3 separate regions of the Homo sapiens genome follow, and all the other regions are linked to region 1. The links are contacts of gene promoters, found by promoter capture Hi-C in blood cells and fetal thymus (Javierre and others, 2016). All regions are on one chromosome and are shown on one strand. The core of a region is centred on a gene start or on the middle of the fragment in contact, and the rest is flanking DNA. Distances in the headings are between cores, read along the strand shown. Region 1 holds the start of KCNK16 (potassium two pore domain channel subfamily K member 16). Region 2 has its middle 37 kb from the start of SAYSD1. Region 3 has its middle 57 kb from the start of KCNK5.

Region 1 (3,593 bases), core at 528-3,027:
GTGGTACTATGGTCCCCCAACTTTGACTAACCTTATCCATCAGGGAGAAGAGAGTAAAACCTGAAGCTGGAGGCCTCACTTCCTGGTCTCTCACAGCTACAGAATGTTGTCTGTGACCACCCAGCCCACGCATCATCTTCTAGGCCAGCTGTTCTCAGTCTTCAGGGTCCTCAACATCACCTGGAGAGCCTGTTGACACACAGCCTGCAGGACCCATCCCTAGAGTTCCTGAGTCGGCAGGTGCGGAGTGGGGCTTGACATCTCCAGTTCTAACAGGCTCCCAGGTGATGCTGATTCTGGTCCCGGGACTACACTTTGAGAACTGCTGCTTCAGGTTGCATCCTGCCCCCAGCACTTATGCTAATTTGTGTGGTGAAGACCCGGGGCTCCAGAGCCAGAGGCCTGGGAGTGAATGCTGTCTCTACCAGTAGCTGTGCAGCCTTGGTCAACATATTCTACCTCAGTTCCCATCTACAAAGTGGAGATAGGGATTGTAATAGGTAATTATGAGAAAACACCTGTAACACGCTCAGTGTCAGGTGATGAGTGGATCATGATTGGATTAAGCTGGTCATGACCACCCTGCTTCCCACTGTTTTAGGCACATTGTGAATGCTCAGTAAATGCCAGTTATCAAGGTGATTTGGCACTTGGTCTGTTCCTTTGCAGGGGATGTTGTCACTCGCTCCAGTGCCTATTTCAGATGCATTCACCTCCCTCCACAACACCTGGTTTTGTCTTGTTTCTGGGAAAGAGGAAACCAGAAAGGACCCAGGCAGGGGGTGACCCACTCTGTTACCAAGAGAGAGCCCCATTTGGGTGCAGTGCTGGCAAGCTCAGTCACCTTGGCCATTGCCCACCAAACCCAACTCCAGGTGCAAACAGGCCAGGAAAGGACAGCTTGGTGGTGGCTGCTCCTGGCATTTATCTGTGTCTCCCACCCGCAGCCGTCTGCCCAGGGATATGAGCTGGGAGAGGGCAGAAGGAGCTGCAGCCCTGGAGTTGGGGAAGGGGAAGTATGAAAGTGTGGGAGGAGGAAATTTGGATAGCGTTGATAACGCTGACATATAGTTCCCATTCATCCAGCAAGTGACAGCTTAGAGAGTGCTTTTAATCTGCTGTCAAATGTCTGCAGTACCGATATGGTTATTCTTGTTGCCTTATAGATGAGGCTGTTTGGGTCCAGAGAGGTTAAGTGACCTGTTCAAGGTCACACATCAATCCAGTTGTAGACCTGGGGCCAGAATCCAGGATTAGATCTCACCAGGCTCTCTGTTCCCACCACACTCTTCTTCCAAATGGGGCATCAGCTCCTGGGTGAGGACTGTGGATCTGCCACAGGAACCCCATTCCACCAACCTTCCCAAGCCTCTCCATCCCAATCCCACATCGCTCCCCTTCACCTGCACAAACTGCTCCATGGCCCACTGGTCCAGGCAGGTGTAGTTCTCCAGGAAGCGCAGCTTCTCCAACTGAAACTGGTCCCTGGACTGAGCCTCCGCCTGCCTCTCTAGCAGCTGGAAGATAGTGGCACCGAGCAGCAGGTAGCAGACATAGGCCAGCAGCAGGGGCAGCACCCGGCCACCCCAGCAGCTGCAGAGCCCAGCACTGGGCATGCTGTGGCCAGGACCCTGCCAGGGCCGTGGGGCTGGCTATGGGGGAGAGGTGGGAAACAGGTGAGGAGTAAGCACCTAGGGGCCTGTGCCCAGGCTGCCGCCTGCCCTGCCCTCCTCCTCGGCACAGGTGTCTGGAGGCTGGGGAGACTGTTTGAACAGTGCGGCTCAGCTTGGCTGCACTAAGTGCTATGCTGTGAGTGCAAACAGGCCGGCCACCCCCACCCGGCCTTTGTTTCCATGGACAGCAGCAAGTCAGTGTCAGGGACCCTTCAAAGAGACCTACCAGGTTCTCCTGAGTGCTTCATGTCTCTCTCTCTGTCTCCAAGTTGGATAGATGTTTCTGGGCTAAATCGGATAGGTGTGCTCACTCTGTCCAGGCCCCAGTGGGCTCTCTCGGCCGCCCCCAGCGTCTTCACCCTTGAAGGCTGTAAGACCCCAGCTTAGGAGCTGGGAAGAGGTCAGAATGGGTATGAATAAACCTTCTACTCAGTTGCCTTGGCTACAAAATGGGGCAGGATAATTGAACTGCCTATTGGGGGAACCTCAGGATGAGTAAACTGCGTGACAAATCAGGGCAAAGTAAATAGACAGGTGATTGTCTCACTCAGCCTGATGGTAAGAGTATCAGGGTTGATTCTGCTGATAAGTTGGATTCATTGGTTTTATAACTCTTGCTAATTTGTCTTGCATGAAGCCCTCTAGTGGGTTACCTTCAGAGGATATGTCGGTGAAATATATGTGTGAATTAAAAAGAAACTATAAGTATATCCTGATCCTGGGATGGTAAGAGGGGCTGTCTCTGAGTGGATGGAATTGAGAGTGCTTTCCTTTCTCTTTGCCTGTGTGTGTGTGTGTACACATGCTTGTTTATGTACATGTATAACAGCTTTATACAGATATAATTCACATGCTGTATCGTCCACACATTTAAAGTGTGCAATTCAGTGGGTTTTAGTATATTCACAGGGTCTTCAAGATCCAGCCCTGTTGCAACATGTAACAGTACTTCTTCCTTCTTTCTGGCTGAGTAATATTTCATTGTGTGGCTATAACACATTTGTTTATCCATTTGATTTCTAGTTGATGGACATTTGGGTTGTCCCTGTTTCCTTCTATTAAGAACAAAGCAGCTATGAACCTCTGTGTATGAGTTTTTTTTGTGGACATGTGTTTGCATTACTCACAGGTACATACCTAGGAGTAGAATTTCTGGACTATCTGGCCACTCTGTATTGAACTTTTTGAGGAACTGCCAGGCTATTTTCCAAAGTGGCTGAACCATTTTATATTCTCACTAGCCCAGGGCGAGGATTCCAATATCTCTGCTGTGTTTTCTGCTGTTTCCTTTAATGAGCTGTGGCTGCAGACACTGTGAGTTGCCTGCTGAGTATCCTTTCCCTCCTCCCCAGCTAGCAGAACCCCGGCTTTGTAAGTGTTAACCCCAGGTAATTGAGCATAATTGGTCTAAGTCATAGTGCTAATCTTGCTCCCCTCTGTCTCAGCCCCTGAGAGCAGTGAAGTCACTGAAGACCCATAAGACAGTGGGCAAGAGGGCCAGGCTGAGGAGAAAGCCAAACAAGGCACCACAGTCCCAGCCTCAGCCTGGTTCCTGGGAGCTCTGGCAGGTGAAGTGCACCCCAGTGAGTCCCAGCAGGGGACCTGGGCCTTCATATCCCCACATTAGTCCGTCACTCATGCATTTCTGGCTTTGCGCACGTGCAGGAAAGATGGCTCCAGGAGCTTGTGGAGAGACCCCTGAAGGAGAGCTCCAGGTGCAGGCTAGGCCACTGGGAGAAAAACACATTAAAGCCTGGGGAGGAGACCCCAGGGTCGAAGCGTCCCCTGCACCCACTTTCCCAAGCTCCCTTGCAGCTGGGGCTGGCCACGTGCCCAGGTCCAGCCATGATTGGGCAGAGTTGGCTGAGGAGGTTTGGGCAAAATTGTTGTCTGTTGACCAAGGGTTCAGCTGCAGCTGGC
Region 2 (3,593 bases), core at 694-3,193, 170 kb before region 1:
TGTGCAGTTTTTGTATGTAATTACACCTCAATGAAAAATACACAAGAAACAATGAAGAGCAGGACAAGAAAAGCCAATGAAACACAATAAACCAATAAGTGGTGGCTCTGAAGAAAAAAACAGAAATCATGTAACAGAACAAATATTTAAGGATACAATTTATCAAAATGTTTCAGAAACCAAGGAGAACATTAATCTAGCTATTGAAAAGGAACAACAGATTCCAGAAGAAATGAACAAAAGTCCTCATCACTGAGACATATCCTAGCAAAATTACTGTACTTCAGAGATAAAGAGTCTTTGGGTCAGCCAGGCAAAAAGGCTAAGAGAAGTGATTTGTTAACTTTAGGCTTCTCCAAATTAGCATGCAACCCCAGAAGACAGTGGAACTAATCCTAAAAGCTCCCCAAAGAAAGCAAGTGTGATCTAAAATTTTTACACCTGGCTTTTTATTTTTTAAAAATGTAAAATCAAACATTTTTGTGTATGCAAGAAATTAGGAAAGATTGTTCTTATAAACCCTTCCTGGAGAAACTATTAGAGGACCAACTTCAACACTAATGATGCTCAAAACAGAAGATAATAACGAATTACACAAGGAACATTGCCCAGTAAAGAAATTGACTGTCCATTGTCAGAATGGAAATGCCTGAAGAGGATTTAAATGTTTTGAAAGAGTCTGGTAACTTAATGGTACAGGAGCTAGGAAACACCAGTGTTTCAGAATACAGCCAAGAAATAAATGCAGAAAAGCAACCACGTCTGACAGCAGTGGAGATTAAGAATTTCTAAATTGATATACCACGATACTGCTGTCCAGTCTGCCTGAGAAGGTAAGGTCGGGCTAGATTTTTATAAGATGCCCTGGGAATATGGAATGTTTACCCTTCTTGGGAGTGGGACACTTGCCATTTTCTTCAGGGGAAGACTTTTTCTATAATGAGTGGAAATGTCAAGTGATTGAACAATGGATTGCACAGAAATTTAAAATGATCTTGGCAGAATTAAAATAAATCATTTAAAAGTTATCAGATTAATTTTGGGGACAAATAAGAACATTTTAATAGGGCTTGTATTTTAGATTTTGGAATTATTGTTAATTTTCTGAGGTATGAGCATGGTATTATGGTTGTGTAGGAAAGCATCCTTATATTTATAGAAGATTTATGTTGAAATATATAGGGGTGGAGTTCCACAAAATGTACGCTTTGCTTCCAAATTTGTCAGCAAAAAAGTGTATGTCATACCTAAGGAAAAATAAAATACAGTGAAATGGAAATAATGAGTGAATATTGGTGAGGAGTATATGGGGTATTCATTATACTAATCTTTCAACTTTTTCTGTAGGTGTGAGTTTCCAAAATAAAAAGTTATTCAATTCAGAACAGAATATCAAAGCAGCAAAGATATCTTTTAGAGAAATCAAGACCTAAAATAAACATCTTCCTGAGGAAGTATCTGGGCTTAAAGATACAATCAGTTGACTCGAAGAAACAATTCAAACGCACAGAAAGATGTGCTTACAGTTTGGGGAACAGAATATCAAGAAGACTGGAAAGCTGAAACTCTATGGAAAGGTTACACATCCTTTTTCTGTTTTTCTTTTGAGATGGAGTTTCGCTCTGTCACCCAGGCTGGAGTGCAATGGCATGATCTGGGCTCACTGCTCTCTGCCTCCCAGGTTCAAGCAATTCTCCTGCTTCAGCCTCCTGAGTAGCTGGGATTACAGGCACCTGCCACCAAGCCTGGCTGATTTTTGTATTTTTAGTAGAGATGGGGTTTCACCATGTTGGTCAGGCTGGTCTCAAATTCCTGACCTCATGATCCGCCCACCTCAGACTCCCAAAGTGTTGAGATAACAGGTGTGAGCCACCGTGTCCGGCCAGGTTACACATTTTTACAGGTAATTTTATTTTAAAACTTCCAGACAGGGGAGCTCCCTAATAAAGATTATCTAAGCAAAGTGAAGAGACAATGTCTTGACACTACTAAGTTCAAGAAGAAAAAATTCCAGACTTAAGTCGGCATGGAACAATTATTATTTGGGAAGGACAAGGTTGTAATGAATGAAATACTGAGCTCAGGAAATGAATTACATTGTATTTGAAATCTCAGAAAGTCCTAGAAGCAGCTCTATTGCACAAAGAGGATGAAACTCCCATTTTGAATAATTACACTGAGCTGCTGAAACACCTGATGATCAGGGTGAGAAGACAAAAAGTCAGAAAAGACAGACAGTAGCTACCGCTTCAACAAAATTAAGATCAGTTGGAAACAGTGGAGTCCATTTCCAATTCCGACTGTGTGATGACGTGTCAGCTAGGCAAAAGCAGGAAGCACAGAGAAGTTGGACATGGACCTTGGACACAGCATTTCATCAAAGCTCACCTGAAAAATGGATGCACAGCCTTGTAGCTGAAGCACAAGTTCTAAATGCCCTGGACAGGCAGAGAGGCATGGCTCCGCAGGAGAATGGATAGGAAGAGGGAGAGCAAGAGCTCTCAGCAGCAGAGGAAGTGAAAGCTCATCAGCAAGTAATTTAAGAACTGGAGGATGAATTACAGGGTGGGTGGGGGATGAGATCTAATAAGACCTAGATTGCTCTTAATGGTCGGAAAGTCCGTGACAGCAGGCATACCGCTGGTGCTGCAGAAAGAGCTTTAGTTGGAAAGAAGAGGCAAACTGCCAGACCCGGACAGAAATTAATACAAGGAAAACCAAGACACCAATGCTTCAAACACCAGTGGCTATAACTCCAGGAAGACACGATTACCAAATCCTATTATAGAGAGCTCTCCTGTGCCAAAGCTGATCTTTTGGCCCACCTGCCAGAACTGGAGGTGTCCTCTCCCCAGGGTCTGCTACATGAGTTGCTGGGTCCAGTACAAAATAAAAATGTGTGTCTCTTGATCGAAAAGCAAAGCCTGGGCAACATGGAAAAACCCAGCCACTACCTAAAATACAAAAAAAAAAAAAAAAAAATTAGCTGGGCATGGTGGCACACACTTGTAGTCCCAGCTACCTAGGGGACTGAGGCAGGAGGATCACTTGAACCTGGGAGGTCAAGGCTGCAGTGAGCCAAGATTGTTCCACTGCAGTCCAGCCTGGGAGACAAAGTGAGACTGTGTCTCAAAAAAAAAAAAAAGAGCAGGAAAAAATGCCCCTGAAGGTACTAAAATATATAGCTCTTTCCTTTCTTCTGAGGTTTGGTGCTTTCTGTCAACTTGGCATGGTATTTTTTACTTGCCACTTAAGGTAAATCTCAGTAAAGAAAAATTAAAAATTGTAATTATACCGTTCATCTTTACATTATCTAATGGCAGTTTTACTTATGTATTTAGAGACAGAGTCTTGCTGTTCCCCAGGCTGGAATGCAGAGGTGCAATCATAGCTCACTGCAGCCTCAAATTCCTGGGCTCAAGCAATCCTCCTGCTTTAGTCCCCTGAGTAGCTGGGACTATAGGTGCATGCCACCATGCCTGACTTATTTTTTTTTTTTTTTATTTTTTTTTTTTGTAGAGACGTGGTCTCGCTATGTTTCCCGGGCTGATTTTGAACTCCTGGCCTCAAGTGATCATCCTGCCTTGGCCTCC
Region 3 (3,593 bases), core at 296-2,795, 150 kb before region 1:
CATATTTTAGGCAGTGGAACAGCTCATGTAAAGGCCCTGAGGCGAAACAGTGTATGGCTGGTTTTTAGAACTGAAAGGTCAGTGTGGCCAGGGAGCAGAGAGTGGGGAAGACCCTTGCATCTGATGAGATGAGTGCCTCCAGTAAGGTCTCTGTGCCTGCCATACCCTTTGATTAGTAGGTTACGGAGAACCTTAGGATATTAGAAAGTGAAGGAACCTTGGCCTTCATTCAGGCCAATGCTTTGAACCTGGCTTCAAGCCTCAGCTCCATTATAAATTAACTGTAAATGTGACCTTGGGTCATTGTTTTCTCATCCGAAAAATATCCAGTCAGGGGTGCAAGAAGTGACACCTACTTCGTCTAGACTAGGAGGGTGTCACAGAAGGCTTCATCAAGGAGCTATTTTTATTAGGACACATAATAGGCTGCTATAAAAAGAGACTGCAAATACAGAGACTTAAACAAGAAACACTTTGATTTCTCTCTCATGTAAACGTCTGAGTAGATGGTCCACAATATGGCAACTCAATGGTGGGGGAAGCCATGTGCCTTCTGCCTTATTGCATGGCCACCTTCAGCATATAGCTTCTGTTTCATATGGTCTAAAGTGATTGTTCCAGCTCCTGCCATCACATTTGCACTCCTCTTCCTTTTAAAGGCACTATCCAGAGGTTGCACACGCCATGTCTGCTCATATCTCGTTGGGACATAAGTCAGTCATGTGACCACATGTAGCTGCAAGGGAGTCTGAGAAATGTAATCTTTAGCTAGGGAGCCAGCTACAAATTCAATTACTGTGTAAGAATAGGAGAATGAATATTAAGAGGCAACAAGTAGTCTCTGCCACAGGGGATGACCCAGGGTTTGAAGGTGAAGTTGGGAGCCAGGGCTCTCCAAGCTTCTTCTCTGCCTTGAGCTGCCCTAGCCTGCTTCACTGAATTCAACAGGGCCAGGCTCCATCTTGCTCCATAATCCACCCCTATTCCTGCCAACTTCAGGAAGTCAACTCAGCCTGCAGAGGCTTTGGTAGTGTAGGGTTGCAGTCATGGAGGGTAGGCAGGCCCCATCATACCACACGCTGGGTTCTGGGAGGGTTCCCAGCAGGCTGGTAAGTCAGGCTCGAGATTAGGCAGGTTTCCATGCCTCACACTTGTCAGAGGCTACTGCTGCCACCCTTGCCTTCATGGAAGAGACCAGTCTGGAGTGGGTGGTGGGCTGGCTGTGTTTTCATGACCTGTTCCTGAGCCAGCACCAGGGCTGGTCCCCATAGTCAGGTAACCAGCTGGCAGCAGCAGTTGGGATGGCTCAGGAGCTCTTTCCCACCAGGTTATCTGACTCTGAGAAGGCCAAAACAGCCAACACCAGCAGATTCCAGGGGCTTGGGCCCTGCGGGCTGTCTGGGCAGCTCATCCCAGCCTTTGCTGGCAATGGCTGCCTTTTGGGGCCCCTGCTCTCCATGCTTGTTTTATCTGAGAAGGGTTAGGGATGGGGTGAAGCAGGGGCTATGGTAGAGCAGGGTTTCCCAACTTCAGCATTATTGACATATGGGGCTGGAAAACCCTTTGTTTGCAGGGGGCCGACCTGGGCATTGTAGGACGTTGAGCAGCATCCCTGGGCTCGACCCATGAGATGCCAGTGGCACCCCTACTCCCTCCCACAAGTTGCCAAACGTCTCCTGGGAGTGTGGGTGAATCAATCCTGACTGAAAACCACTGGTGTTGTTGGAAAAGGTCCTGATGTACCAAAGGAAGAAGTCAGGCATGGATGGATGGAGGGAGAGGGAGAGAGAGCAAGAAAGAGAGAGAATGGGGGAAAGGAAAGGGGAGAAACAGGTGGGGGGAGAAAAAAGGGGGAAGGATAGGTACTGAAAGTGAAAAAATAACATTCAAAAGGAAAATAAAAGGAGAAAATAAAAGAAAGAGGCAAGTTTAGAAAGGCCAGGCCCTAGAAGGCAGGGGCTGGAGGTAAGGGTTGGGGGATGTCAAGCAAGTCATCAGACCCCAGGGGTTGTTCTGAGGTCTGGAGATGTGATGGGGCAATGTAGGAGCTGGCCTGGGGCAAAGGGGCCATCTCAGAACTCTAGAGTTGTCAAAATTGAGAACCTGGATTCCCATCCCCTAGCAGCCAGGCCACATAGCAGAGCTTTTAAGGGTCATTCCTTAGCCGGGATCAGCAGGCAGGCCAGACTCCTCAAGCTTCTCCCAGGTCTCTGGATCTCTTAATGGGGTTAGAATTTGGATGTGGGATCTCTTCAATGTTTCTTTTTCACCTACAGAGAATTTTCACCAGTGACTGGGCCATTGCATAGAGGCTGACCGCTTTTGGTCTCTGCTATCTCCTAAAACCCCACTCAGATGTTACTGAGAAGGCATAACCCACAAGGACAAGAAAAGTGAAGTTGTGGGGTAGTCAGCAAAATTCTGGAAACTGAAAAGGGGAAGGACAGTTACTCACCCCCGGGAAGCAGCTGCACCGTAGCTGCCTGGCCTGGAGGTGGGAGGATGGTCAGGATGGCAATGAAAAGCAGGCTGCTTTGAGCTTCGAGCTTAGGGAGCCTCCAATGGCTCAGCGCTTGGAAACACTGGATACCTCAGAAGCGGGTGCCAGGGTGGAGGGCTGAGAGGGACTGGCTGGAAGTGAGTGAAGAAGCAGTGAGAGCCCCAGATCCCCTCCTACTTCTTGCAAAGCCTTCTCCACTATAGCAGAAGATGGGCTGGCTTATAGAGAGGTTAACACAGGTGAGGCTAGAAATTAAGTGCAAGTCTGCACACCAAAAGTAGTTTCCCCAAGCCCTTCCCCACTCAGCATCAGAACATTGGAACTGGTTTATATCTCTGAGCAAATTTGAGGGACTCAGCAAATTACTGGGAAATTGACCCAAGAGAAAGGACCTACAGATGCTGACATTTAGAGGTTTCTCAGTGAAAAAGTGGGCTGGCTACCAAGTTTACTGGGCACCAGCCCTGTTCACATACAGTCAACCCTCGAACAAGACGGGTTGAACTGTGCAGGTCCACTTATACACGGATCTTCTTCTACCTCTGAGACAGCAAGACCAGCCCCATGTCTTCCTCCTCCTCATCCTACTCATTGTGAAGATGACCAGGATGAACACATTTATGATGATCCGCTTCCACTTAATAAATAGTAAACAGGCTGGGCATGGTGGCTCACGTCTGTAATCCTAGCACTTTGGGAGGCCGAGGTGGGTGGATCATGAGGTTAGGAGTTCCAGACCAGCTTGGCCAAGATGGTGAAACCCCGTCTCTACTAAAAATACAAAAATTAGCCGGGTGTGGTGGCTTGTGCCTGTAATCCCAGCTACGCGGGAGGCTGAGGCAAGGAATTGTTTGAACCTGGGAGGCGGAGGTTGCAGTGAGCTGAGATTGCGCCACTGCACTCAGAGTGAGACTCAGTCTCAAAAAATAAAATAAATAAATAAATAGTAAACATATTTTCCCTTCCTCATGATTTTCTTAGCAGCATTCTCTTTTCTCTAGCTTACTTTATTATTAGAATACAGCATATGTCACATATAACACAAAAAATATATGTTAATTGATTGTTTATGTTATCGGTAAGGTTTCCTGTC

The links. The method cuts DNA at HindIII sites, captures the fragments that hold promoters and counts their contacts. A CHiCAGO score of 5 or more calls a contact.
Region 2: a fragment that was not itself captured here is called in contact with the fragment with the promoter of KCNK16 in region 1 in 2 of 17 cell types (monocytes and neutrophils); the score reaches 8.3 in monocytes.
Region 3: a fragment that was not itself captured here is called in contact with the fragment with the promoter of KCNK16 in region 1 in 5 of 17 cell types (monocytes, neutrophils, total B cells and 2 more); the score reaches 9.4 in monocytes.

Annotation. Positions count from the first base shown.
Region 1 is chr6:39,320,925-39,324,517 of GRCh38, forward strand. KCNK16 (potassium two pore domain channel subfamily K member 16) reads right to left here and starts at 1,778. Exons shown (of 5, transcript NM_001135106.2): 1 at 1,404-1,778. The coding sequence starts at 1,616. The region is part of intron 1 of LOC105375047 (a long non-coding RNA gene); the gene reads left to right. The HindIII fragment of the contact is 9,631 bases long and covers 1-3,593 here.
Region 2 is chr6:39,149,920-39,153,512 of GRCh38, forward strand. No RefSeq gene overlaps it. Among named protein-coding and RNA genes, the nearest start is that of SAYSD1, 37 kb to the left of the region's middle. The HindIII fragment of the contact is 6,218 bases long and covers 1-3,593 here.
Region 3 is chr6:39,170,988-39,174,580 of GRCh38, forward strand. No RefSeq gene overlaps it. Among named protein-coding and RNA genes, the nearest start is that of KCNK5, 57 kb to the right of the region's middle. The HindIII fragment of the contact is 1,297 bases long and covers 898-2,194 here.